Regions from separate parts of the Homo sapiens genome. Here regions 1, 2, 4, 5, 6 and 7 are each linked to region 3. Evidence: promoter capture Hi-C in 16 types of primary human blood cells and fetal thymus (Javierre and others, 2016). All regions are on one chromosome and are shown on one strand. The core of a region is centred on a gene start or on the middle of the fragment in contact, and the rest is flanking DNA. Distances in the headings are between cores, read along the strand shown.

Evidence for each region. The method cuts DNA at HindIII sites, captures the fragments that hold promoters and counts their contacts. A CHiCAGO score of 5 or more calls a contact.
Region 1: a contact is called between a fragment that was not itself captured here and the fragment with the promoter of SRRM3 in region 3, in 3 of 17 cell types (naive CD8 T cells, endothelial precursors and naive CD4 T cells). The highest score is 5.9, in naive CD8 T cells.
Region 2: a fragment that was not itself captured here is called in contact with the fragment with the promoter of SRRM3 in region 3 in 2 of 17 cell types (M1 macrophages and M0 macrophages); the score reaches 6.3 in M1 macrophages.
Region 4: a fragment that was not itself captured here is called in contact with the fragment with the promoter of SRRM3 in region 3 in 1 of 17 cell types (endothelial precursors); the score reaches 5.1 in endothelial precursors.
Region 5: a fragment that was not itself captured here is called in contact with the fragment with the promoter of SRRM3 in region 3 in 2 of 17 cell types (megakaryocytes and M1 macrophages); the score reaches 6.0 in megakaryocytes.
Region 6: a contact is called between a fragment that was not itself captured here and the fragment with the promoter of SRRM3 in region 3, in 1 of 17 cell types (total B cells). The highest score is 5.7, in total B cells.
Region 7: a contact is called between a fragment that was not itself captured here and the fragment with the promoter of SRRM3 in region 3, in 1 of 17 cell types (megakaryocytes). The highest score is 5.8, in megakaryocytes.

Annotation. Positions count from the first base shown.
Region 1 is chr7:76,336,526-76,339,780 of GRCh38, reverse strand. The region is part of intron 1 of YWHAG (tyrosine 3-monooxygenase/tryptophan 5-monooxygenase activation protein gamma); the gene reads left to right. Among named protein-coding and RNA genes, the nearest start is that of FPASL, 20 kb to the right of the region's middle. The HindIII fragment of the contact is 1,556 bases long and covers 745-2,300 here.
Region 2 is chr7:76,057,917-76,060,416 of GRCh38, reverse strand. MDH2 (malate dehydrogenase 2) reads right to left here. Exons shown (of 9, transcript NM_005918.4): 4 at 2,339-2,448; 5 at 1-44. Among named protein-coding and RNA genes, the nearest start is that of MDH2, 11 kb to the right of the region's middle. The HindIII fragment of the contact is 5,688 bases long and covers 1-2,500 here.
Region 3 is chr7:76,200,646-76,203,569 of GRCh38, reverse strand. It overlaps SRRM3 (serine/arginine repetitive matrix 3), which reads right to left and starts at 1,674. Exons shown (of 15, transcript NM_001110199.3): 1 at 1,503-1,674. RefSeq lists a silencer at 1,588-1,827. The HindIII fragment of the contact is 9,812 bases long and covers 1-2,924 here.
Region 4 is chr7:75,949,430-75,952,319 of GRCh38, reverse strand. All of the region lies in intron 1 of POR (cytochrome p450 oxidoreductase), which reads right to left. Among named protein-coding and RNA genes, the nearest start is that of SNORA14A, 7.1 kb to the right of the region's middle. The HindIII fragment of the contact is 837 bases long and covers 832-1,668 here.
Region 5 is chr7:76,037,284-76,040,280 of GRCh38, reverse strand. The region is part of intron 1 of STYXL1 (serine/threonine/tyrosine interacting like 1); the gene reads left to right. Among named protein-coding and RNA genes, the nearest start is that of STYXL1, 9.2 kb to the left of the region's middle. The HindIII fragment of the contact is 8,407 bases long and covers 1-2,997 here.
Region 6 is chr7:76,424,879-76,427,859 of GRCh38, reverse strand. It overlaps ZP3 (zona pellucida glycoprotein 3), which reads right to left and starts at 2,910. Exons shown (of 8, transcript NM_001110354.2): 1 at 2,584-2,910. The coding sequence starts at 2,895. The HindIII fragment of the contact is 6,728 bases long and covers 1-2,981 here.
Region 7 is chr7:76,018,194-76,021,372 of GRCh38, reverse strand. The region is part of intron 4 of STYXL1 (serine/threonine/tyrosine interacting like 1); the gene reads left to right. Among named protein-coding and RNA genes, the nearest start is that of TMEM120A, 25 kb to the right of the region's middle. RefSeq lists an enhancer at 1,677-2,178. The HindIII fragment of the contact is 1,799 bases long and covers 740-2,538 here.

The DNA.
Region 1 (3,255 bases), core at 273-2,772, 140 kb before region 3:
AGAAACTGTATTTACTCTTCATTAAGTGGAAGTGGGTCATTGTAAAAGTCTTCATCCTTACGGTCTTCGTGTTGAATAGGCTGAGCAGGAGGATAAAGAGGATTGGGCTTGCTGTCTCAGGAGTGGCAGAGGTGGAGGAAAATTCACATTTAAGTGGATTTGTGCAGTTCAAACCTGTGTTGTCCAAGGGTCAACAGTATAGAATGTATTCTGTATGTTATTACTAACCGTATAAAGGTATCCTTTGTTCTTCATTGTATCTTTATCATTTTTATACATTATTATTACTATTATTTTTATATGTATTTTTTGAGATGTAATCTTGCTCTGTTGCCCAGGCTAGAGGGCAGTGGTGTGATCTTGGCTCACTGCAACCTCTGCCTCCCGGGTTCAAGCAGTTCTCCTGTCTCCGCCTCCCGAGTAGCTGGGATTACAGGTGTGCGTCACCATGCCCAGCTAATTTTTGTATTTTTAGTAGAGATGGGGTTTCACCATATTGGCCAGTCTAGTCTTGAACTCCTGACCTCAGGTGATCCGCCCACCTTGGCCTCCCAAAGTGCTGGGATTACAGGCGTGAGCCACCGCGCCCAGCCTATTACCATTATTTTTATACAACTAAGTTAAAACACACAGAAAGCAAAGAAGTGTGGTTTGAGTTTGTTGTATACATCCATAAACTGTTTATATAAAATTACTGGCTTTGGGCTTTTCTGAAAACTTGGCTTTCAAGATTGGCTTTAAGCTTCAATTGTAGGTATGAATAACAGGGTAAATTGTGGAGAGGGTTTGTTGGAATAAGTACTACTAGTCATCGGTACAAAATTCAACCTAATCAACCTTGACTGCTTCCCAGCCAGTCTGGTTTTGAGACCCTTCTAGAAATGTCGTGTGAATGCACAGGTGATTTTTAGTGCCAACTAGAATTCTGTCATATGCACATGACCAGTGGATACGTGCCTGTTACCCACACCGTCACCTTCACAATGAAGCCTTGGCATTGTGATCAGAGAACAATTCACAGAATGAATGAGGTTGAGCATTTTTCCTATTGTTTTCCTTTTCTCCGTTCCTTTTTTCCATTTTTCTGTTACTGAGATTTTCTGTTTCTAAGATTGATCTTAGAAATTCTCTGGAGGTTTTCATGTATTAGAGAAATTAGCTGGTTCTCTGTGGTGTTGCAGAAGTTACATCATCAGAGACTCTTAGCATAGAAAAAGAGCACAAGATTTGCAGCCTGAGGGCTGGAGTTTTTTCTGCTCTGTGGAGTGTTAATGAGGTGACTCTGGGGAAAAGTCATGTTATTTCTCTGAGTCACACCTGTAAAGCGAGTGTAATACCCACCTTGTGGAGTGGGACTTGGCGCTGTCAGCCAAACCCAGGCCCTCACCCAGCTCTCCTCTCATCTGTGAGACCTTGGCTTGGCCTTGGGTAGAAATTTCACGACTCTGAGGCTGTTCCTCTTCCTCGAATGAATGTTTCCCTCTGCACAATTTTTAGCCAGGGTGATCGCTGCTGGAAAAACCCAACTAAAGTTGTTAGTTCCTAATTAAAATTTTCTCCAAGTTTCCATGCAGTTTGCTATGTTAAGAATACCTCTGTGACTGATACTCCAATGTGAATAAGTTGTATTTTCTCCGTGTAGACTGAGTACCTTGAGTACATCCCACTAGTGTTTTGTGTCTTCACGTTGTGATACAATGTGATGTATATACTAGATGGTCCATGGATGCTTGATGAATTAATTATTTGATAAGTAGTGGCCATTAATCATCTTTTCCCTGGTCACCGGACTTATAAAACATGTATCAAGTTTTCTGGAATGAATGTGTGTTGAGAGTCCCCAAGACTGCCTCCAGGCTTGGTGATGTACTGGGACTCAGCAAATACTTGTACTCATGGCTGCAGTTTTTTACTGGGAAGTATGCAAAGCTCAATCAGCAAATGGGGTCGGGCACAGTGGCTCATGCCGGTAATCCCAGCACTTTGGGAGGCTGAGGCGGGCGGATCACTTGAGCTCAGGAGTTCAAGACCAGCCTGGCCAAACATGGTGAAACCCCGTCTCTACTAAAAATAGAAAGTTTAGCTGGGTGTGGTGGTGGGCGCCTGTAGACCCAGCTACTCGGGAGGCTGAGGCAGGAGAATCACTTGAACCTAGGAGGCAGAGGCCACAGTGAGCCGAGATCACACCACTGCACTCCAGCCTGGGTGGCAGAGGGAGACTACATCTCAAAAAAAAAAAAAAAAATTAGCAAAGGGAAGAGGCGCAGGAGATGAAAATCAGAGGAAGCCAGGCGCAAGCTTTCAAGAGTCCTCTCCCAGGGAAATCACACGGGATACGCATCATTATTCCAAGCTGTGACAATATGTGAGAAATGCTGTCTACCAGGGGTCTTGTTAGAGAGCAGCTGGGGGCTGGTCACTTAAGTACCCTCTGCCTGCCTAGCACATGTCCAAATCCAGATTCCCAGAAGGAAAACAGGTTTAATATAAACCAGATCGTTTGTACCAACAGATTGGCAACAGTGAGCCATCTTTATCAGGGAATGGTGGGAACCCTCCCTAAATCCAAGTTCTCAGATGCCAGCCAGAGACCAGCCTTGTAAGCAGGCCTTTCGAAAGACAGCAGACTGAAGCCTATTATGTTAACTCTTCTGCACAGAAGGGAGTTCATGTTTGAGGCGTGTTATTTCAGATACATAAGGTTATTTTCAGTGTTTAGTTGATTACTTAGTAAACATAGGTTGTCTTTCGAACGAGTTGTGATGAAGGAGAACCGTGTCCCATCCGTTTGCAGTGGTTTATCCACTGTCTGCATGGTGTATCCTTAACATGGACAGCAGCGCACATCCTGCACTTGGTCATCTCATTCTTTCTGTTTCTATTTAGCACTCACTGCATTTCTCTTTTTCATGGCCCTTGGCCCTTTCAGGTGACAATATTCTCAAATTCTAGGAGGACAGAAAATGTAAGATGGAGCCAAGTCTCATACCTAGCACTTGCTAGGTTGAAAAAAAAAAAAAAAAAAGACCGGGCACCGTGGCTCACGCCTGTAATCCCAGCACTTTGGGAGGCCGAGGCGGGTGGATCACCTGAGGTCAGGAGTTCGAGACCAGCCTGGCCAACGTGGTGAAACCCTGTCTCTACTAAAAATACAAAAATTTAGCCAGGCGTGGTGGTGGGTGCCTGTAATCCCAGCTACTTTGGAGGCTGAGGCACGAGAATCACTTGAACCCGGAAGTAGAGGGTGCAGTGAGC
Region 2 (2,500 bases), core at 1-2,500, 140 kb after region 3:
TGCTTCTTGAAAACTTCTGCTGTGATGGGGATGGTGGAATTAACCTAGGACATCCAACAGACAGGCATGGCTTGCCCTGGGTTCCGAGAGCAGGGCCAAGCCACAGCAGGAAAAGGGCTTTTTGTCAGACCTTCCCAAAGGTCTAACTAGTCCAAAGATGCCACATTAAACTGCCCTGTCTGATAACTCTGTACTGGCAAGCCACCTGCCAGAAAGGACAGGCCGCACCATGTGAACAAAGAAACCCTTTGCTGTAGAGGATGCTTCTTCCCTTGGTGGCCCTTCAGCTATCAACTGAAATGTGTGATGATGCCTCCATGGATCACCTTCTGCTCGGCCGGGACTCACAGCTGCAGGGCCACTCCTGATGGGACAGCAGTGCACAGCGGCTGTGTGCTCCAAGGAAGCAGGTCCACTGGCAGCTCAGTCCCTCTGTGCTATGACCCTGGGCAGGTCACCCTAACTCCCTGGGACCCGTTTTTTTCTTCTGTAAGTGGGGGAAACGACAACCTCATGAAGTCATAAATACTAAATGACTTCACACACGGCGAGTGCTGAACACGTCACCCGGGACGCCAGAAGATGACAGAATGGCCAGGTTTCTATTAGGCACTGGTTAGCTCCCCAACAAAGGGAATAGCAGCTCTCTATTTGTGACCCACCACCCTGAGGAGCTTCTGGGGAACGCAGGACCCTTAGAGGCCAGGAGCACGAGCTCTGCATGCCTGCTGGCATCCATGCCTCTCAGTGACATCATGGTCCCTGCCCCTTCACCCCAATTGATCCTCATCCTCAGACACCAGGACCCAGGCTCCGCCAGGAAGGAGCAGTGAGGTGGCTGCTGTTAAATGAGCACAAGGCCCTGCAGGTCAAGCTGGGGAACCATGGCCGCCCTCTCAGTGAGGACGCAGCACTCAACGTTTCCGAGAGTAAGCAGCTACCTGCAAAAACCAGTGAGTGGGGCCTGGGGTGGCTGTGTGTGTGTCCGCGACTGTGTGTGAATGAGGAAATGGGGACAACAGGGGACCAGGAATGGAAATCCTGAGTAGAATGCAGATAGTCCCACCTTATCCATGGTTTCACTTTCTGCTGTGTTAATTACCAGCAGTCAGTTGAGGTCTGAAATTATTACACGGAAGATTTCAGAAATAAAGAATTCATGGGTTTTAAACTGGCTGGGCGCAGTGGCTCATGCCTGTAATCCCAGCACTCTGGGAGAGTGAGGCGGGAGGATCACCTGAGGTTGGTTGTTTGAGACCAGCCTCACCAACATGGCGAAATCCTGTCTCTACTAAAAGTACAAAAATTAGCTGGGCATAGTGGCATGCACCTGTAATCCCAGCTACTCAGGAGGCTGAGGCAGAAGAATCGCTTGAACCTGGGAGGCAGAGGCTGCAGTAAGCCAAGGTCGCACCACTGCACACTGGCCTGGGCGACAGAGCCAAAAACAAACAAACAAAAAAACTGCATGCCATCCTGAGTAGCAGGATGAACTCTGGCTCCATCCCGCCCAGGACAGGGGTCAACCCTTTGCCCAGCATACCCATGCGTCTACACCACCTGCCTGAGTCACTTAGGAGCCATTTTGGTTATCAGATCAGCTGTTGAGGGATCATGATGCTTGTGTTCCAGTTGCCTTATTTTACTTTACAATGGCCCCAAAGCGCAAGAGTAGTGATGCTGGCAATTTGGAGAAACAGAAACCAGAGAAGCCATTAAGTACTTCCCTTAAGCGAGAAGGTGGAAGTTCCTGACTAAAGGGAAAGAAATAACTTTTATTATAGTATCTTGTTGTGATTGTTTTACTATGAGTTGTTGTTGTTAATCTCTTACTGTGCCTAGTTTATGCATTAACTTATCACAGGTGTGCATGCCTAGGAAAACACATGGTATATACAGGGTTCAGTATACACATGGTATATACAGGGTTCAGGGTTCAGGCACCTACTGGGCTCTTGGAACATACTTTTCCGGCTAAGTAGGAGCTACTGTGTCAAAAAGGGAATCAAGAGACCACCACAATCACGGCTGAAAGGAGCCTTGAGAATGGACTTCTCTTCAGGTGGGGAAACTAAAGCAGAGAGAGACGTGGTCTGCCCACAGCACAAGGCTGGCTGTGACAACCCTCATTCAGTTCATGCTGGAAGGAGTCCTTAGGAAGTGCACGGACGGGCCTCTGCTTAGTGCACCCGACCTCTCCATTTCAGCCCCTTCATCTGTGTATCCCCCCATCCCCCCAGCACATCAGCAGCCTTTGCTGCAAACCGTGAGCTTTTCACGCACTGTCAGCACCTAAACACCTGCCATAGCTGCAAGAGCCGGGTGCTGCCACACTCACCGGATTGGCAATGACGCAGATCATGGCTTCCGGGCAGTGCTGGGCACAGGCAGCGGTCAGGGTGGCCACAATCGTGGCATTGGTGTTGAACAGGTCGTCCCGGGTCATGCCTGGAAATGATCCAATATGAGATGTTAACAGAGAACACCACAAATTTCCAGA
Region 3 (2,924 bases), core at 425-2,924:
CACTGAACACTATTCCACATTTATCCAGCTCTTCTTTAAGAAATTCTTACTTGTCTCCTATTTACTAACACTCACCCAGCATTTTATACCGTAAAAGTAGTCTCCCATCTCCTTATCCAGATTATTTCTTTCAACAGCAAAGTAGACATTGCTAACACTACACCTGTTTTACAGATTGAAAACAGACTCAGAAAGGTCAATGGCTTACCTGAGGTCACATAACCTAGATTTGATCCCATGTCTTTCTGACATCAGAGTCCATGACTCCCAACCCACATACCCCTACCTCTTAAAACCCAGTTGACTCTTTAGTCAGTCTTCAAGAATACCTCCTCCACCCCACAGGAGAGTGGGATGGGGCATAAAGTTAAGGAACCAGAAAGCTACTGCTGTGTGGGAACAATTTCCTAGCCAGCTGGGTCCTATTTTTGACTGAGGAAGAAGCTGGCACAAACTGGGGCCATGACCTTAAGATGCTCCCTGGACAGAGGAACTTGTGCACGTCTCTCCGTCAAAGCCCAGCACCTGCCTTTTCTCTTGCCATGGGACAAAAGACCAGCTCAAGCCCCCGATGCTAGGGTGAGTGAGGTCTTAGGACAGCGAGAAGTTATGGCTGGGATAGGGCACAGGCATTGAAGTACCACGTCAGACCTTGGTACAACCTTCCCTTCCTCCCACTAAATCTCTCCCCACAATGGATCTGCTGTCAGGAGTAGGAACTGCAGGAGGCTTCAACACTGTCCAGGCAGGAGCCCTGGGAGGGAGGGGGAGGCGGAGGCAAGGCAGAGGCTGCGTCTTTTCTCAGCTCTCTTCTTTACCAGGAATTCACTCTGGCGCAGGTCTAACTCTGGGCTAGAAACTCTCTCTGGGCGTCCGTGGTTGGGGTGGGGGGTGTGCACAGAGAACCCCCTCCCAAATTCCTAGTAGCTATTTTCTCTTCTGTGTCCTCCATCCTCTTCCCAGTGCAAGAGTAAATGCCATCCTGTGAGACCCAGTTCTCCTTGCCAGCTCCTGCCTCCCTAGGGGCATTTGGGTAGCCGGGAAAGGGGCCAGGCTGTCCCCTGGGCCGGCACCTCCTGCTGGACAGAGGCCCAGCATCCAGGTGGGGGCCTGCTCCCTTCACCAGGGCCAGTGACCAGCATCTCCACAGGGTTACTGCATCGGTCCTCCCTTCCCTGGGGAGCAGGTCCTTCTCCTCAGTGGGACTGCGGTTGGGGGGCCTCCCTGGCACCCTCATGGACTAGGCCATGGTCATTTATGCCCAGGGGAGTCCTGCCCATGACCCCAAAGGTCTCCACTGTCTCCATCCCTCTCAGTGAAATGAATGTTCCTCATCTCTGCTCCCCGGGCGCCTGGCACCCCCGGACAGACGCCCTCGCCGACCTCCCACACTGCCCCTCTGCTCGGGGGAGCCTGCAGACCACGGGGGTGCTGGGGAGGCCCGAGCTTCCACCCAGCCCCAGCCCCTCGGGGATATGCCCCCGCCCCACAGGCGCTCTCACCTCACCGCTGACCGCCGCGATCTACCGGGCGCTGGGGCCAGGCCCTCGGGTCCCGCCGGTCCGGGCTGCCGCCTAGTCTGGGCTGAGTTGGGCAGGGCAGCTCCGCGGCCCCCACGGCCCCGCACCCTCTGCCTCCCCGCGGGTGCTGCCGCCGCTTGCTGAAATGCTGGACAGCGCACCGCCACCGAGGCGCCTCTCTGCTCGCCCGCCAGCCAGAGCGGCCCAGCCCCGCGCCCGCAGCGCCCTCCGCAGGCCTGGAGGAACGCCCGCAGCGGAGGCAACAGCCCGGGCGGCTGGGCCGGGCCGTCTCCCGGCCGGCTCCCCCTCCTCCCCGCCCCCTTCGCCCCCCTCCCCCCCTTCCCCTCGCCCCTCACCTCCCCACACCCCCGCCCCTATCCCCAGCCCCCGGGGACATCTGTTTCCCCCACTTGCGAGAGGAGGCATGTCAGCCCTGGAAGGCGCCTGGGGCAAGGGAGGTTATTAGTTTGGATCTGGGAAATGCAGTCGGTGTGCAGAGGCCTCGCCAGGACACTCTCTTCCCACCCAGTGTTAAAGAAGGCACCAGGGGCTGGGCGCGGTGGCTCACGCCTATAATCCCAGCACTTTGGGAGACTGAGGCGGGAGGATCACTTGAGGCCAGGAATTCGAGACCAGCCTGGCCAACATGGTGAAACCCAGTCTCTACTAAAAATACAAAAATTAGCCAGGCGTGGTCGCAGGCACCTGTAATCCCAACTACTCAGCTACTTGGGAGGCTGAGGCAGGAGAATCGCTTGAATCTGGGAGGCGGAGTTGCAGTGAGCCAAGATCGCACCATTGCACTCCAGACTGGGCGACAAGAGCAAGACTTAGGGTCAAAAATAAAATAAAATAAAATAAAATAAAAGGCACCAGGGAGGTGAGGTGGGAGGATCGCTGGAGCCCAGGAATTTGAGGCTGCAGTGACCTATGGTGGCGCCACTGCACTCCAGCCTGAATGACAGAGGCTGTCATTTTTTGACACCATCTCAAAAATTTAAAAAAAAAAAAAGGAGGGTGTAGTGTGAGAGACATCCTAATGGAGACAGGAGATTTTAAATTATTTTTTTAAATTTTAAAATTTTGGCTGGATGCAGTGGCTCACATCTGTAATCCTAACATTTTAGGAGGCTGAGGTGGGAAATCACTGAGCTCAGGAGTTTGAGACCAGCCAGGCCAACATGAGGAAACCCTGTCTCTATGAAAAATACAAAAATTTGCCAGATGTGGTGGCATGCATGCACCTGTGGTCCCAGCTACTTGGGAGGCTGAAGTGGGAGGAAGGCTTGAGCCTGAGAAGCGAAGGTTGCAGTGAACCAAGATTGCTCCATTGCACTCCATCCTAGGTGACAGAGCCTCAATTTGTCTCAAAAACAAAAACAAAACAAAAAAACAAAAACAACA
Region 4 (2,890 bases), core at 1-2,500, 250 kb after region 3:
CCGCCCCATCCGGGAGGGAGGTGGGGGGGTCAGCCCCCCGCCCGGCCAGCCGCCCCGTCCGGGAGGGAGGTGGGGGGGTCAGCCCCCCGCCCGGCCAGCCGCCCCGTCCGGGAGGGAGGTGGGGGGGTCAGCCCCCCGCCCGGCCAGCTGCCCCGTCCGGGAGGGAGGTGGGGGGGTCAGCCCCCCGCCCGGCCAGCTGCCCCGTCCGGGAGGGAGGTGGGGGGGTCAGCCCCCCGCCCGGCCAGCCACCCCATCCGGGAGGTGAGGGGCACCTCTGCCCGGCCGCCCCTACTGGGCAGTGAGGAGCCCCTCTGCCCCGCCAGCCGCCCCGTCCGGGAGGGAGGTGGGGGGGTCAGCCCCCCGCCCGGCCAGCCGCCCCGTCCGGGAGGGAGGTGGGGGAACCCCCATGTCACCAGCCTAGTTCCCTCATAAGATGCTCAACTGGTCCTTCCACCAACGACACCTGGTAGGCAGACGTGACATGAGTCAACAAAGGTCCAAGTGAGAGTCCCTGAAACAGCAGCTTCTGCTGCTTACCAAGGAGGCTGGGCTCAGCCCTGAAATTCACACTATTCCATTTTGCAATCATGGATATGACCGACTGGGTTTTTCACCACAACCAGAGCACCCAGACTCAATCAGGAAAGCCTTAGTCATGTGTCAGCAATTAGGCAATGAGAGACTATGTTCTAGCTGACTGCTGATGGCTGTCACTGTCACCAGGAAACCATGGGGCTGGTCTGGGAAGCCAGGGCATCCGAGGGTTGTGGGCATCGGTCTACTGCTACACAACCTGCTGGGAACAGGCCATTCAGAACAGGCCCGCAAGCTTGGGTCTTTGCTTTCTCACTAATCTGAGCTGCTTTTCCAATGGCTTGAGTTCATCTCAATTTAGCTTTTTTCTTTCTTTTTTATTTTATTTTTTTGAGATAGAGTCTCTCTCTGTCACCCTGGCTAGAGTGCAATGGCACCATCTCGACTCACTGCAACCTCCGCCTCCTGGGTTCAAGCGATTCTCTTGCCTCAGCCTCCAGGGTACCTGGGACTACGGGTGCCCGCCACGACACCTGGCTAATTTTGTATTTTTAGTAGAGACGGGGTTTCACCATGTCAGCCAGGCTGGTCTCGAACTCCTGACCTCAGGTGATCTGCCTGCTTCGGCTTCCCAAAGTGCTGGGATTACAGGCGTGAGCCACTGTGCCTGGCCTCAACTTGGCTTTTTTGATATGACTTTTTTTTTTTCGGGGGGGGGGGGGGCCGGGGGACAGAGCCTCGCTCTGTCACCCAGGCTGGAGTGCAGTGGTGCGATCTCGGCTCACTGCAACCTCTGCCTCCCGGATTCAAGCAATTCTCCTGCCTCAGTCTCCTGAGCAGCTGGGATTACAGGCATGTGCCACCACACCCGGCTAATTTTCTGTATTTTTAGTAGAGATGGAGTTTCACCATGTTGGTCAGGCTGGTCTCAAACTCCTGACCTCGTGATCCTGCCTCGGCCTCCCAAAGTGCTGGGATGACAGGCGTGAGCCACTGCACCTGGCCAGCTTTTTTGATATGACATTAAAGGACAAAGTGAATTCTGTTGTCCCCAGAGAAAACTATTTATATTTAATCTTATAAACACATTTAATATTTACTTAATGCTAGTCATATCAGGATCTCTGTCAAGCTTATGAGCCACCTGTCACATTTTCATAGAACCAGACAGAGAGGCATTTAGGATCTGCTCTGACAGATTCTGGAAGGACTTGTCCCACAGAGTCATGAGGCAGCAGACAGTCAGGGCCCCACTGGAACCAGTCAGGAGTGCCATGGTGACACAGGAGCTCCCCTAGCTGTCTAGCTGTTATCCATCACAAGGCAGCAGCCAAGAAACTCGCGCTCCCTGTCCCTCACCCTCCTCCCTTCTAACTCCCCAAGTGACCGGTCCCCTCATTTTCCAGAAGAGATCTAATGCCCATGATGTGAAGTCCTTCTCAACGCAGACTCAAGCTGATTGCATAACTCATGGCAGTTTCTATTAATAAATCGACGACGCTGGGAGTGAGGTTAGCGGTACATCTGCACCTACGTAATCACCGCAAGAGAATTCTGATGGACGGGCCATTCCCCACACAGCAGACAGGGGGATGCTTTAAAAAGTAAGTCAGATCGTCCGGGCACGGTGGCCCATGCCTGTAATCCCAGCACTTTGGGAGGCCAAGGCGGGTGGATCACGAGGTCAGGAGATCGAGACCATCCTGGCTAACACAGTGAAACCCCGTCTCTACTTAAAAAAAAAAAATACAAGAAATTAGCCAGGCGTGGTGGCAGGCACCTGTAGTCCCAGAAACAGGAGGAGGGAGGTGAGGTGGGAGAATGGTGTGAACCCGGAAGGCAGAGCTTGCAGTGAGCTGACATTGTGCCACTGCACTCCAGCCTGGGCGACAGAGCGAGATTCCATCTCAAAAAAAAAAAAAAGTAAGTCAGGTCATGTCCCCTCCCTGATCAAAACCCTGAGATGGGCTGGGCACGGTGGCTCACACCTGTAATCCCAGCACTTTGGGAGGCCGAGGCAGGTGGATCACCTGAGGTCAGGCGTTTGAGACCAGCCTGGCCAACATGGTGAAACCCTGTCTCTACTAAAAATACAAAAATCAGCCGGATGCAGTGGCGCATGCCTGTAATCCCAGCTACTCAGGAGGCTGAGGCTGGAGAATCATTTGAACCCAGGAAGCGGAGGTTGCAGTGAGCTGAGATCACACCACTGCACTCCAGACTCCAGCCTGGAGTGCTGGAGAACAGAGTGAGACTCCATCTCAAACAACAACAACAACAACAACAAACCCTGAGATGTCTTCACATCATACTTCGTACAAAAACCTAAAGTGGCCAGGCACAGTGGCTCACGCCT
Region 5 (2,997 bases), core at 322-2,821, 160 kb after region 3:
AAGGTGGGGCCTGAGCCCAATCAGGGAGCAGAGGAAAAGCAGGCCCCAGAGACAGAGTCGGAGGAAGTGAGCCAAAGGTGGTGGTCACCGTCTTTGGAGACTGTGCTGTAGTTTCCAGACCCCACCACCGCCTCCTGACAGCCTAGTTGCCGTATGAGCAGACCTGTTACCCTTACAGGACCACTAGGGCACCTCTCAGGGGTCTAGCAGGCTTAGGTTTGGGGACATGGAATTGATAGCAAGATCTAAGGCAAGGAGCAGGGATGTGGACGGCTGGATCTAGGCCTCTGATCCATACCTGCTCTCCCTAAAATATAGAGGTACTAGCGATGGAGGCCAGGCGCCGTGGCTAATGCCTGTTATCCCAGCACTTTGGGAAGTTGAGGCAGGTGGATCACCTGAGGTCGGGAGTTTGAGACTAAGCTGGCCAACGTGGTGAAACCCCGTCTCTATAAAAATACAAAAATTAGCCTGTCATGGTGGTGCATGCCTGTAGTCCTTGCTACTGGGGAGGCTGGGGCAGGAGAATTGCTTGAACTTGGGAGGCGAAGGTTGCAGTGAGGTGAGATCACGCCACTGCACCCCAGCCTCAGCAACAGAGACACTGTCACAAAAAGAAAAAAAGGTGATAGTAGATACTAGTGATGATCAAGGCAAAGTTAGGAGGTTATGATGGCCCTGGTCTCCTCCTCCTCTTCCCTCTTTCTTTCTTCTGTGCCAGTGGGACCTGGTGTCCCTCTGAGTTAAGAGACAGATTTCAGGCCCACTTCTGCAGCCTCCACAGCTCTGGGGGTGTTGTGACCTGGGACTGTATTACCCAGCTTTGTCAAGGTTCAGGCCACAGAGAATGTGTCAAGCTGGGATTGAGGAAAGACTGTACCAAATCCCTTAAGATCCTGACCCTTGGCTGGGCGCAGTGGCTCACGCCTGTAATCCCACCACTTTGGGAGGCTGAGGCGGGAAGATCACTTGAGCCCAGGAGTTCGAAACCAGCCTGGAAAACATAGTGGAACCCTGACTCTACAGAAACTAAAAAAAATTAGTTGGCCGGGTGCGGTGACTCACGCCTGTAATCCCAGCACTTCGGGATGCCAAGGCGGGTGGATCACGAGGTCAGGAGTTCGAGACCAGCCTGGCCAACATGGTGAAACCCCGTTTCTACTAAAAATACAAAAGTTAGCTGGGAATGGTGGCACATGCCTGTAGTCCCAGCTACTTGGTAGGAGAATCGCTTGAACCTGGGAGGCGGAGGTTGTGGTGAGCCGAGATTGCACCACTGCAGTACAGCCTAGGCAACAGGGCAAGATTCCGTCTCAAAAAAAAAAAAAAAATTAGGCATGATGGTGCACACTTGTAGTCCCAGCTACTCGGAAGGCTGAGGTGGGAGGCTCACTTGAGCCCAGGAGTTTGAGGCTGCAGTGAGTGACGATCGCGCCACTGCACTCCAGCCTGGGCAACAGAGTGAGACGCTGTCTCTAAGAGAAAACAGCAAAACAAAATGTAACCCAAATATGACAAGAGTTAGTTAGCTCGCCTTGAGGCCATTCTCAAGAATGTCATTCAACGGTGGCTCACGCCTGTAATCCCAGCACTTTGGGAGGCCGAGGCAGGTGGATCATGAGGTCAGGAGATCGAGACCATCCTGGCTAACACGGTGAAACCCCGTCTCTACTAAAAAAAAATACAAAAAAGCCAGGCGTGGTGGCAGACGCCTGTAGTCCCAGCTACTCAGGAGGCTGAGGCAGGAGAATGGCGGGAACCCAGGAGGCAGAGCTCGCAGTGAGCTGAGATCGTGCCACTGCACTCCAGCCTGGGGTGACAGAGCAAGATTCCGTCTCAGGAAAAAAAAAAAAAAAAATGTCATTCAATTCCCAAACATAAAGCAGGTCCTGACAGCCTCGAAGTCACATAACGAGTAGGGAGGTTTTTCTGGGACGACAGAGGAGAGGCTCATGTCATCCCACAGAACCAAACACCCCCACATTCCTTCAGACCTCTCTGTTCTTCCCCATTGTTCTCTTCCGGAAGCGAGACCCTGTCTCTACAAAAAAATAAAAACTTAGCTAGGTGTGGTGGCATGCACCTGTAGCCTCAGCTACTCAGGAGGCTGAGGTGGGAGGATCGCTTGAGGCTGCAGTGAGCCATGATTGTGCCACTGCACGCCAGCCTGGGCAACAGAGTGAGCCCCTGTTTCAGGAAAAGAAACTGAGAGGGTAGGAGTAAAGGAATTTCCTAAGCTACTGCCATGTGTCAGGCCCACTGCTAGGCAATTTATATCATTTAGCTCTTGAATGATCCTATAGCTTTGCCAGTGTGTATTATCTCAGCTTACAGGTGAGGGCATTGATGCCTGTCACTATGTTTAAGCCTTGGTCATGCTGGCACAGCCTGAGCTTCCCACCGCGAACCAGAACAGCGGTGGGGATTGGCTGTGGACCCTGACCCTTACCTGGGCTGGTCAGCTTGAGCCAGAGTCTCAAAGTGAAGCTCATGGTCTGGCTTCTCCAGGATCATCAAGTGTTGTCTCTTCACCAGAAGCAAATGCCCATCAATTGTGTCCACCTGGACTGTCTTGGGGGTTAGGGTGGCTTGGCAGTTGAGCGCTGGGTCAAGCCTGCAGTATCCTCGAACTCCTACAAGAAGCCTGTGGTCAGGCCCAGCCTCTGACACCTCCACCGTCAGTCAGGATGGAAGTCCCCTGGGTGTTGAGCAGACACAGGGAGGCAGGGAGATGAGCTGGATCTGGCTGGGTCCCTGCTTAGTCACAGGCTCTGGCAACCTCTAATGAAACATCCCTTCCCAGTTGGCTGTTTTCCCCAAATATAGACACGTGCTGTCACTAGAGGGGAGCTTCCCAGCCCAACAGCTTCTGGACCATGCTGGGCTGACTTGGGGAGAGAGCCACCCACGAACCCCTGGTTTGAAGGCCAGACTAGGTGGTCATATGGAAGGTGACAGACCTTCCCCCTGGTGGGTGTACTGTGTGCAGGGACAAAG
Region 6 (2,981 bases), core at 122-2,621, 220 kb before region 3:
AAAACATAACTTGGCTGGGCACGGTGGCATGTGCCTGTAGTCCATCCCAGCTATTCAGGAGGCTGAGGCAGGAGGATGGCTTGAGCCTAGGAGGTCGAAGTTGCCCAAGAGCTCAGGTGGCTGCCTGGCCCTGACCAAACTCGATCTTCAGGGAATAGTCCTAGACCTTATTAGCAAGTGCCCCAGCACAGACAGAACCAGCATAGCTCGTGGGGCCCCTTATTCAAAAGTTATTACCATTTCAGGGCAAGAGGGCATTCCATTAAGCACTGGGCCCCACAGAACTGCACAGGTTGTATACCTGGGAAACTGGCCATGGCTGTATTTTTTTTTTTTTTTTTTTTGAGACGGAGTCTCACTCTGTTGCCCAGGCTGGAGTGCAGTGGCACGATCTCAACTCACTGCAACCTACGCCTCCCGGGTTCAAGCAATTCTCTGCCTCAGACTCCTGAGTAGCTGGGATTACAGGTGCCCGCCACCACACCCGGCTAACTTCTTTGTATTTTTAGTAGAGATGAGGTTTCACCATCGTGGCCAGGCTGGTCTTGAACTCCTGACCTCGTGATTCACCCGCCTCGGCCTCCCAAAGTGCTGGGATTACAGGCGTGAGCCACTGCGCACGGCCAGCCGCAGGTGATTCTCACCGGGCAAAACTGGGAAACACCACACCAGAGGAAGGAGTTTGCAGGCTTTGCTCCTCATTGGAGTCACCTGAGATCCTTATTACCCACAGCTGGTCCCACATCCTTTCTATTTTAGCAGCCTGGACATCAGGATTTTTAGAAGCTCCACAGGTGGGGTTAATAAAAGAGGGTCTTGCTCTGCCTTCCAGGCTGGAATGCAGTGGCACAATCGTAGCTCACTGCAGCCTCCAAATCATGGGTTTAAGCAATCCTCCCACTTCAGCCTCCCAAGTAGCTGAGACTAAAGGCAGGCGCCACCACACCCTATTGTGTGTGTGTGTGTGTGTGTGTGTGTGTGTGTGGTGTTTGGTAGAGAAGGGGGTCTCATTATGTTGCCCAGGGTGGCCTTAAACTCCCGGGCCCAAGTGATCCTCCCATCTCAGCCTCCCAAAGTGCTGGGATTATAGGCGCCATTGCACTCCAGCCTGGGCAATAAGAGCAAAACTGTCTCAAAAAACAAAAACAACAACAAAAAAATACCACTTATCAGCTTCTAACCTATTAAAGCCCATTTCACAGAAGGGGGGGGAGCCAGGCACCTGGCTCCCCAAGTAAATCTAAGACATGTTTGTGAGCCTCTAAACTGGAATAATTCCTCAAGTAACTCCTGCAGCTCTCTGGCCTCCCTCCCCAGGAAAACAAGGGCCTCGAGTCCTCAAAGAGAGCCCAGGAGACCACAGTTAAGACCAGAGCTCTGGCCGGAGGGCTCCAGGGGCTGGACTTGCCCCCATCCCAGGCAAGCTACTGGGTCTAGGCCCAGGTGAGGAGGAGCCAGGTTCCCCTGAGGCGGGAGAGGACAGGCCCTCCATGGGACCACAGGAACTTGGTCCAGGGATCAGGGTTTAGCTGGGGAGCTGTGTGCCCAGCCCTGCCCTGCCGTAAGGCCTCTCCTTGCAGCCTCTTTCCCCACTGGCTAGGGAAAGGGAGGTCTGGCCTGGATTTCTTGGTCTTTTCCTGCATGTACCACAGGTTAAGCCTCTCCCCCTTGGAGCTGCCCCCAGGGACCCACTGATGCTTTTAAGGTCTTTAACACCAAGGTTATGATGCCCCCGCCCCCATACCACTTATCTATGTGGAATTTTTTTTTTTTTTTTGAGCCAGAGTCTCGCTCTGTTGCCTAGGCTGGAGTGCAGTGGCACAATCTCAGCTCACTGCAACCTTTGCCTCCTGGGTTCAAGCGATTCTCCTGCCTCAGCCTCCTGAGTAGCTGGGATTACAGACACGCACCACCATGCCTGGCTAATTTTTGTATTATTAGTAGAGATGGGGTTTCACCATGTTGGCCAGGCTGGTCTCAAACTCCTCAGCCTCCCAAAGTGCTGGAATTACAGGCGTGAGCCACCACACCAGGCCCCAGTTAGTTTTTTTAAAGGCTTAAGAGATGGGGTCTCACTATGTTGCCCAGGCTGGCCTCAAACTCCTGGCCTCAAGTGATCCTCCAGTCTTGGCCTCCCATAGTGCTGGGACTACAGGCATGAGCCACTGCACCCGGCCCACTTGTTGTTTTTAAGATAATGTATACTTTGGGTCTCTTCAGGATGAGTTCCTAATGCCCCCAGCCTTAGAAACAGCCCCTTAGGCTACCCACAGGGCTATCCTATCACGCAGGCCTGTGTGTGTCACAAACCCACCTGAGAGAGAGTGGCGTGGCTTGGGCCAGCCTGAAGTGCACGGCCACCTCTGGCTCCACCCCATCGACCCAATGTCGGGCATCAGAGGCAGGAGCTGCCCTGGGTCCGGTGACCTCAGTGCCAGCTTCAGGCCTCAACTGGGCCACCTCCCCACCTACAAGTGAGAGGGATCCACCCAACCCCACCTCCCACCGATGGTGGCCACAGTCCCCATACCCGGCTGCCTCGAACATCCTCCCACCAAAGCCAGGGCCCCCAGCCTCTCTTACCTGCATGCTGTTGCCACACTCGTGGAGTCCAACCTCAAACCTGACCACATCTTCTGTGTCCATGGAGACCAGAGGCTCACAGGCCTCTGGGCCCAAGGTGAGGTCAGCAGCCCTGATGAGCTTCCCGGTGCCAAAAAGGTCTTTGCTGACCATGACCATCAGAGTGGCCTCCTGACACTCCACCAGTACGGGCTGTACGGACGTCTCAGGATGGCTGGCTCCACCCTGCAAGAGCCAGAGGGGTTGGGGGTAGCACAGCTCAGTACTACCCCAGAGCAGGAGGCAGATGAAGAGCCTATAGCTCAGCTCCATGGTACCTGCAGAGCAGCAGGCAGCCGCCTCTGGCCATCTTATACCCGTGGGATGCTGGCTGCTGCCACCTGGGCTCTCAGCTTCTC
Region 7 (3,179 bases), core at 390-2,889, 180 kb after region 3:
GCGGTGGCTCATGCCTGTAATCCCAGCACTTTGGGAGGCCGAGGCGGGCGGATCACAAGGTCAGGAGATTGAGACCATCTTGGCTAACACGGTGAAACTCCGTCTCTACTAAATACACAAAAAATTAGCCGGGCATGGTGGCAGGCGCCTGTAGTCCCTGCTAGCTACTTGGGAGGCTGAGGCAGGAGAATGGCGTGAACCCAGGAGGCAGAGCTTGCAGTGAGCGGAGATCACGCCACTGCACTCCAGCCTGGGCGACAGAGCGAGACTCCTTCTCAAAAAAAAAAAAAAATTCTTGTAACAGGGTCTTATGTGATTCTAGGACAATACACATCAAACAGCTGTGAGCAAGCAGGTTGGAGAGCAAGCAAGGTGACTTAGTGATGAATGCTGAATGTGCTGCAAGCTTGCTTTATTTTCATTTGTTCCCCTCCCTTCTTTGCTGATTTCACAAAGTTTATGGGGACAGTTCCATGTGTGCCATGCACCAGGAACCAAGGGCTTTACTTGGATCTGCAGAACAGCTTACAAGGACGCTAACTAACATCAAGAGCTGTGAGGAAGCCAGGCCCAGTGACTCATACCTGTAGTCCCAGCACTTGGGGAGGCTGAGGCAGGAGGATCACTTGAGCCCAGGAGTTCAAGACCAGCCTGGGTGATATGGCAAGATAAGGTACCCAGCTCATTTATTTACTTTTTGTAAAGACTGGGTCTTGCTGTGTTGCCTGAGACTTAAGCTTTTAAAAGTGTTGTGGACATATTTTTAAACCACCACACCTATAAGTGGTGGGGCCAGGATTCAAACCCAGGCCTTTTTGGCTCTGTCCTGTCCCCCAGGGATTGGGTAGTGGCACGAGAGCATGCAGCCCCAAGTCAGAACATTAAAGCGTGGTCAGTTCCAATGTGCTCCATCGAACCTCTGAGGCTCTGCTGTGTTCTTCATTAGCCCCTGGTTTTGGGCTGACCACCCTTTGCCATTGGCACTGGGAGCTCTGCTTCTAGGAATCAGAACTGCACCTGTGGGTGCCGTTCCAGAAGCTGGGGGCACTCACACCAACTGCCACGGGGTGGCGCTATGCTCCCACCTTTCATAAAACCAGCTGTCTGGACTTTTGTCCCAGGAGGTCCTTGGCCAGGAAATTGTCCCTTCTTCCCTAAGCTCATCCTGTTGGGCTCTGGTCTGCAATCCTAGGACTGTAGGCTAGGCCTTGAAACCCTAGGAGATGGTACTCAACATGGATAATCCCCTTTACATTCTATAACTGACCTTACTTTGCTATGGGGCCCCCATTCACAGGAAACCACAACCACACAACTTGTGCATTCAAGGCAACTTTTCTTGTTTCAAATGGCATCTTTCAGGTCAATGAAAAGTCTTTGGGGGTACAAGACCATCTCAAGGCTTCTCTCAACACCCCCTTCTTTCTTTTTTTTTTTTTTTTTTTGAGTCAGGGTCTCGCTTTGTTGCCCAGGCTGGTCTCGAACTCTTGGCTTCAAGCAATTCTCTTGCATTGGCCTCTCAAAGTGCATGGATTACAGGCATGAGCCACCATGCCTGGCCTGAACTCTGACTTCTGAGCCAGGCCCTGTGGGGTGAGCTTTGGCTCCTGTCTTGAGAGCTGCAGATTCTCTCTCAGCCTGGCTGCAGATTCCAGATTCTTCCTGTCAATGCCATCTCTCAGATAGGTCCCAGCCACTTATATCCTCCACAGCCCCTTCTGGAAGTGTCTTTGTCTCCCTGAACAAAAATTCAATATGGAAGCAGAGTTAGCCAGGCACGGTGCCTCACACTCGTAATCCCAGCACTTTGTGAGGCTGAGGCAGGAGGGTTGCTTGAAGCCAGGAGTTTGAGACCACCCTGGGCAACATAGCAAGGCCCCGTCTCTACCAAAAATACAAAAAAAAAAATTTAGCCAGGCATGGTGGTGCATGCCTGTAGCACCAGCTACTCAGGAGGCTGAGGCAGGAGGATCACTTGAGCCCAGGTGGTCAAGGCTGCAGTGAGCTATGACTGTACCACTGTATTCTAGCCTGGCTGACAGCGTAAGACCCTGTCTCTAAAAAAAACGTATTTAAAAAAAAAAAAAAAAGAAAAAAACAGTTAGAGTTCATGCTGTTTTCTTTCTCCTTTTATCTGGCTCTCTGAAGTCTGCCACACACTATTTCTCTTTCTGGGCCAGAACCTGGCCTCAGGATATCTTGGTTTAAGGATGTCTTGGCTTAGCCTTAATTATGCAAACTTCCTGTCACATATATCTAATTTACATGCAGTCTGATTGTGATTCTGCAGATCAATGAAGGTGTTTAAGATTAAATTGATGTCAAAACCACATTGAGATATTATTCACGCCCACTGGGATGGTAATAATCAAAGAGACAGATGATAATAAGTGTTGGTGAGAACATGGAGAAATTGGAAGCCTCATACACTGCGAACCAGAAAGTAAAATGGTGCAGTCACTGGAAAACAGTGTGGTGTTTCTTTAGAAGGTTAAGATATAGACCCCAAAGTAATGAAAACACATCCACACCAAAGCTTTTACATGAATGTTCATAGCAGTGTTATTCATAATAGCCAAAAAGCACGAACAACCTAAGTGTCTATCAGCAGCTAAACAGGTAGAACAGAATGTGGTCTGTCCACACAATGGAATATTACTCAGCCATAAAAAGGAATGGGGCTGGGCGCTGTGGCTAATAATGCCTGTAATCCCAGCACTTTGGAAGGCCAAGGCGGGAGGATCACCTGAGGTCAGGAGTTCAAGACCAGCCTGGCCAATGTGGTGAAACCCCATCTCTATTAAAAATACAAAAATTAGCTGGGCGTGGTGGCATGTGCCTGTAATCCCAGCTACTAGGGAGGCTGAGGTAGGAGAATCACTTGAACCTGGGAGGCAGAGGTTGCAGTGAGCCGAGTTTGTGCTATTGTACTCTAGCCTGGACAACAGAGTGAAACTCGGTCTCAAAAAAAAAAAAATAAAAGTACTGACATGTGCTATAATGTAGATGAACACTAAAGAGATCATGGTAAGTGATAGAAGTTAGATGCAAAACATCACATATTATTCCATTTATATGAAAAGTCCAGAATAGGCAAATCCATAGAAATGAGTGGTTAAGTGGAGCTGGGAGTTTGGGGAAAAACGGGTGTGGCTGATTAGTGGTACAGGGTCCCTTGT